Linked DNA regions of Homo sapiens: region 2 is linked to region 1. The links are contacts of gene promoters, found by promoter capture Hi-C in human tissues and cell types (Jung and others, 2019). All regions are on one chromosome and are shown on one strand. Each heading gives the region's core, a stretch centred on a gene start or on the middle of the fragment in contact. The rest is flanking DNA. Distances are from core to core; before and after follow the strand shown.

Region 1 (2,770 bases), core at 134-2,633:
TTACACCTGTCAATTTTCATAAAAAATAGTTTGAAGATTATTCTGAATAATTATAACCAATGAAACACAAAGACAAGAAAAGAACTATTGCAGTGGGCCCTTGCTGAACCTGAGCTAGCACCTATAATGAGTGAGTCTTCACCGAAAGAAGAATAAGGAGGGAGCAAGGACTAGAAGGACAGAAAAGAGGCAATGATAACTTAAGAGAACACTGAATTTTTAAAAATTTTAAAAAGGTAGTGGCTAGCAGAGAACCTGAGACTTGTACCCATGAGAACTTTAGCCCAGTCTATCTATCACGATAGCCCCAAGAATTCTGGTCATTGTACTTGGGTAAGGGCTTCAATTTTTTAAGGCACTTGCATTTTATGAAATGTTAGTGTTTGCAGGTGTCTTGGCTAAATAATTTAGGGAATACATTTTAGGAGGAAGTAGGGGCACAGAGGGGGAGAGAGAAACCAGGCAGGAAAGAAGAAAAAAAGAAGAAAATAAATCTTTCTGTTCCCATTATTTTACTGCCCATAGAATTATAAAAGGTAAACACACACACACACACACACACACACACACACACACACACACACACACACACACCTTATAGGGTCATTTAGAACCATCTTTCTTCATTTTAAAACTAAAGAAACAGGTCTAGGTGACACAGATGAAGCAGTGGCAGAGCCAGGAAAATAATCTGACCCTTGTCCCTGCTCTTTCCACCGCACCATGGTGACTCTCTTTTTTGTGTCTTTTTTTTTTTCACTCTAAAACTGATGATCATTTGTAGTCAAAGAGATCAATGCTATTCTCAAAACAAGTTCTGATCTCTCATAATTTTCTTGGTAACTCAGAATCAATGTTAAGTACGTTGAAATAAAAATACAGTACTTTACACGGTAATTTGGTAGACTGTGCACCACGGTCCCATCCATTTTCTTACTTGATCCTCACAAAAACCCTTTGAGGCAAGGCAAGGAAGGTATTATCATCTACATTTTTAAAGTGAGCAAATTAAAACCCAAAGTAAGGTCACTTAGGGTCAGGACGGAGCAAGTACTCTATTCCTATATTTGGAATATAGGAGGGAATACACTTCCAAAGAGGCAATTCCCTCAAAAAGCACCAATCTTGCTCTTTACTCTCTTACCAAGGCATTCTCCATGCCCTGGAGATGCCCGCACTAGGTTAGTGAAGCTTGGATCTTGACATCCACATAGGTTACTCCTAGTTTGCACCTAGTTGTCAACTTAAAAAGCGCAGTTTCTTACCCCTTCCCTTGGTCCTGATCCTTATTTAGGCTCCTATTTTTCTCTTTGGGATTTGGCCTCCTGGGTCTCACTCCAAAGCTCCACCCTCTCCAAACAAGAAGTCGCGTCCTTGGTATCCAAGGTGACCATGCAGCTTTACCCTCGTTGCCCCCTTCCGTGCTTCCCATTGGCCAGTGGCCTCCCATGTACCGCCCCTCCAATAGCCAATGGTCTTGAAACAAAGGGCGCCCGCCTTTCCAGCGATTCTAACACCTGCCCTCTTACCCGTGCTCCCCTGCGCATTGCCTCCTGGGATATGTGGTTTCTAAGAGGCGGAGCTCTGCGACTTTCCACCGCTTTAGAACTACGTATCCCGTCGGCCTTAGCGAAAGGGGGTGGACTTAGGCAAGGGGTCCAGGTCAGAGTTCAGAGCTTTCAAATCCCAACTTGCCCCTGGGGATTACGCAGCTGATGTTTACATCGCCTAGTCAAGCCAACCGGCTCGCTCTTGTTTCAGCAAACCCTGACTTACGTCTCCTATTTGACTTGAGGCGGCACAGTGGCCAAGTCGATTGGCCGTGGCAAGTGACCCTCCCTGTGGCTGAAGTGTTCTGAGGACTGGCGAGAGAGGCGCGCCATGCTTGCCCCCTGTTCAGGTTGGGAGCTTGGCTGCTTCCGTCTCTGTCTCCGTCAGGTCCGACTGTGGGCTGGCGCTGGGCGCTGGTCTTGCTGGGCTTGCCAAGCCAGGCCGTACAGCTCAGGTAGGGGCGAGCGCTGGCCCGGATCGGAGACTGAGGTCCCTCCGCCTGGCCCGGCGCGCCGAACTCTGAAGGAGTGGACACTGCAGGTGAGCCCGTTCGGTCGGCTGCGGGCGCGGCTCCCGTGCCACCTGGCCGTGAGGCCCCTGGACCCCCTCACCTACCCGGATGGCGACCGCGTGCTGGTCGCGGTGTGCGGCGTGGAGGGCGGCGTGCGGGGCCTGGACGGCCTGCAGGTGAAGTACGACGAGGATCTGGAGGAGATGGCCATTGTGTCTGATACTATCCACCCCCAGGCGTCCGTGGAGGTGAACGCGCCCCTGAAGTTTGGCAAGTGAAGTGAAGTGAAAACGGGTTTGGGTCCCAGGGAACGCACAGTGAACTTAATAAATTTGGTCGACGTGCACTTTTAATTGGTCCTGGCTTTCTAAACCTAATTTACAGTTGGCCCCTTCGGAAATGCAACTTTTCCTCTGTTCTATTCTTGAGTATCCGAGTAGTATTTAAAAAATTAGGTTCCCAATTATAGAAATTTTATACATCGAATGGAAACACGATTTGGTATAATCCAGGTCAAATTCTATTTCTGGAGCCGCTTGTGTTCTTCTTTATCCCGTTGTCATTAGCAAACTGGCTTATTTTTCAAGGTTGAAGTTTCTTGACAATTCATTCAATGGTATGGCAGTCCATCTACATTTCCCCTTGCTCACAGCCTGGGGGTGTGTCCCAAAACAGCCCTGTCAATAGGATGTTCCAGGTACCACCTGG
Region 2 (2,802 bases), core at 303-2,802, 91 kb before region 1:
GAGCCTCCAATGCTTCTGTCATATCAGAAAAGCAAAAAATCTACCCAAGACTACTAGAATCATGTCAAAGGGATTTGGAGTCATGTCAAAAGGCTCCCACTACCCAAAAAATGGGCCAGGAGGACTGGCAATGAGCTAACAACTATAAAGGATGGGAATAACTATGTTTAAGTAAATGAGTTCACAGTAATACTTCAAAAAAAAAAAAACACCAAAAAAATAAAAACACCCCACAACACCTCTCACCTTTGAAGGATACTGGGGAATCAATTAATCATTTTGAAAACCTGAAAATCAAGTATTTATCATGCCTCTACAGCAGGGTAACCAAATAACTGAGTGGAAGCTTCTCTTTTTAGAAGGATTCTAATAAATAAGTGAAGAGAAAATAATAGTATTATAATATTGTCATTTAAAATTCCTAATGAATTAATAGACCCAGGCAAGTATTATTAATAGCAGGTAACATCACTAAAAGGGAGACAACCAATATCATGTGCCTCCTGATGAAAGTTCATGCAACCAAGAGGCATCCCATTTTGTGAATTCAAACTATACTACAAGGCTGTAGTAACCAAAATAGCACGGTACTGGTGCAAAAATAGACACACAGATCGATGGAACAGAACAGAGAACTCAGAAATAAAGCCATATACTACAACCAACTGATCTCCAACAAAGCTGACAAAAAGAAACAATTGGGAAAGGACGTCCTACTCAAAAAAATGGTACTGGAAAAAGTGGCTAGCTATATTCAGAAGAATGAAACGGTACCCCTGGCTCTCACCACATATAAAAATTAACTCAAGAGGGATTAAAGACTTGAATGTAAGACCTCAAACTATATAAATCCTAAAAGAAAACTTTTAAACATTAGACTAGAAAAAGAATTTATGACTAAGACCTCAAAAGCAAATGCAACAACAACAAAAATTGACAAATGAAATTTAATTAAAGAGATTCAGCACAGCAAAGAAACAATCAATGGAGCAAACAGACAATCTACAGAATGGGAGAAAATATTTGCTAACTATCAGGCTGACAAAGGACAAATATCCAGAATCTATAAGGAACTTAAATCAACAAGCAAAAAACAAATAACCTCATTAAAAGGTGGGCAAAGGACATGAACAGACACTTCCCAAAAGAAGACATATGAGTAAACAATCATATGAAAAAATGCTTGTCATCATCAGATAAATGCAAATGAAAACCACAATGGGATACCATCTCACACCAATCAGAATGGCTATTATTAAAAAGTCAAAATATAATATGTTGGCAAGGATGTGGAAAAAAAGGAATCCTTATACGCTGCTGGTTGGAATGTAAATTAGTTCAGCCCCTGTGGAAAACAGCATGGAAATTTTTCAAAGAACTAAAAATAGAACCACCATTTGACCCAGCACTCCCACTGCTGGGATTCTCAAAGGAAAAGAAATCATTCTATCAAAAAGACACCTGCACTCTTATATTTATTGCAGCACTATTCACCATAGCAGTCATGGAATCAACCTAAGTGTCCATCCATTAGGATTAGATAAAGAAAATGTGATACATATACACCATGGAATACTATGCAGTCATAAAAAAGAATGAAATCATGTCCTTTGCAGCAACATGAATACAGCTGGAGGCCATTATCCTAGGTGAATGAATGCAGAAACAAAATCAAAGTATTCATTTTCTAACTTATAAGTGGGAGCTAAACAATAGGTACACATGGACATAAAGATGGAAACAATAGACACTGGGGACTTCAGAATGGGAGGGAGGGCAGTGAGGGTTTAAAAACTGCCTACTGGGTACTATATTCACTATTTATGTGATGGGTTCAAGAGAAAGCCAAACCCAACATTATGCAGTATACCTGTGTAGCAAACCTGTACATATAACCTCTGAATTTAAAATAATAATTAAAAAGAAATGATAAATGTTTGAAATGACAGCTATGCTAATTAACCCGATCTGATTACTATACATTATAAGTATCAAAACATCACTATGGGTAGAGCAAGGTGGCTCATGTCTGTAATCCCAGTATTTTGGGAGGCTGAGGTGGGAGAATTGATTGAAATCAGGAATTTAAGACCAGCCTGGGAAATGTGGTGAGACCTTGATTCTACTAAAAGTTAAAAAAAAATTAGTCAAGCATAGTGGTGCACACCTGTGGACTCAGCTACTCGGGAGGCTGAGGTGGGAGGATGCTTGAGCCCAGGAAGTCAAGGCTGCAGTGAGCTGTAATTGCGCCACTGCACTCCAGCCTGGGTGACCAAGTGAGATCTTGCCTCAAACCACCACCACCACCACACAAAAAGCCATCACTATGTAAACCATAAATATGTACATGTGACAATAAAAAATTTAATAAAAACTTGAACAACAACAAAAAACAAAGTTGATGGCACCACCTAGAAAGTAGCCTTGGCAAAAAAAAAAAAAAAAAAAATTAATGTGACCTGGATAAAACATTTATGCACTAAGGCTCTATGATTATAATGGAAATACAGGCTTACTATTAAGCAAAATCCAGATTATGGAAAAATTTATGGGACAAATGGCCCAGCTTCTTAAAAAAAATTTTCTATTACATTACCACATTACCTTACCTCTTGCCATGTAGGCTAGAATCTGCTAATGACACTTACAGGCTTAGCCAATAACCATGAATAATTTACTCTTTTCTTTTTTGTTTATTTATTTATTATTTGTTTATTTATTTGAGACATATCACTGTGAATGGGATTTTTTTCTTCAATTTTTTTTTTTTTTTTTTTTTGAGACGGAGTCTTGCTCTGTCAC

The links. Contacts are between HindIII fragments. The study calls those that stand out against the background at their distance.
Region 2: a contact is called between a fragment that was not itself captured here and the fragment with the promoter of CCDC146 in region 1, in 6 of the 25 tissues and cell types used here (H1 embryonic stem cells, IMR-90 fibroblasts, aorta and 3 more).

What each region holds. Positions count from the first base shown.
Region 1 is chr7:77,121,228-77,123,997 of GRCh38, reverse strand. CCDC146 (coiled-coil domain containing 146) reads right to left here and starts at 1,383. Exons shown (of 19, transcript NM_020879.3): 1 at 1,266-1,383. It also overlaps the pseudogene FAM185BP. RefSeq lists a silencer at 1,598-1,697 and enhancers at 1,593-2,092, 2,093-2,594. The HindIII fragment of the contact is 9,649 bases long and covers 202-2,770 here.
Region 2 is chr7:77,212,598-77,215,399 of GRCh38, reverse strand. All of the region lies in intron 2 of CCDC146 (coiled-coil domain containing 146), which reads right to left. Among named protein-coding and RNA genes, the nearest start is that of FGL2, 14 kb to the right of the region's middle. The HindIII fragment of the contact is 4,628 bases long and covers 1-2,802 here.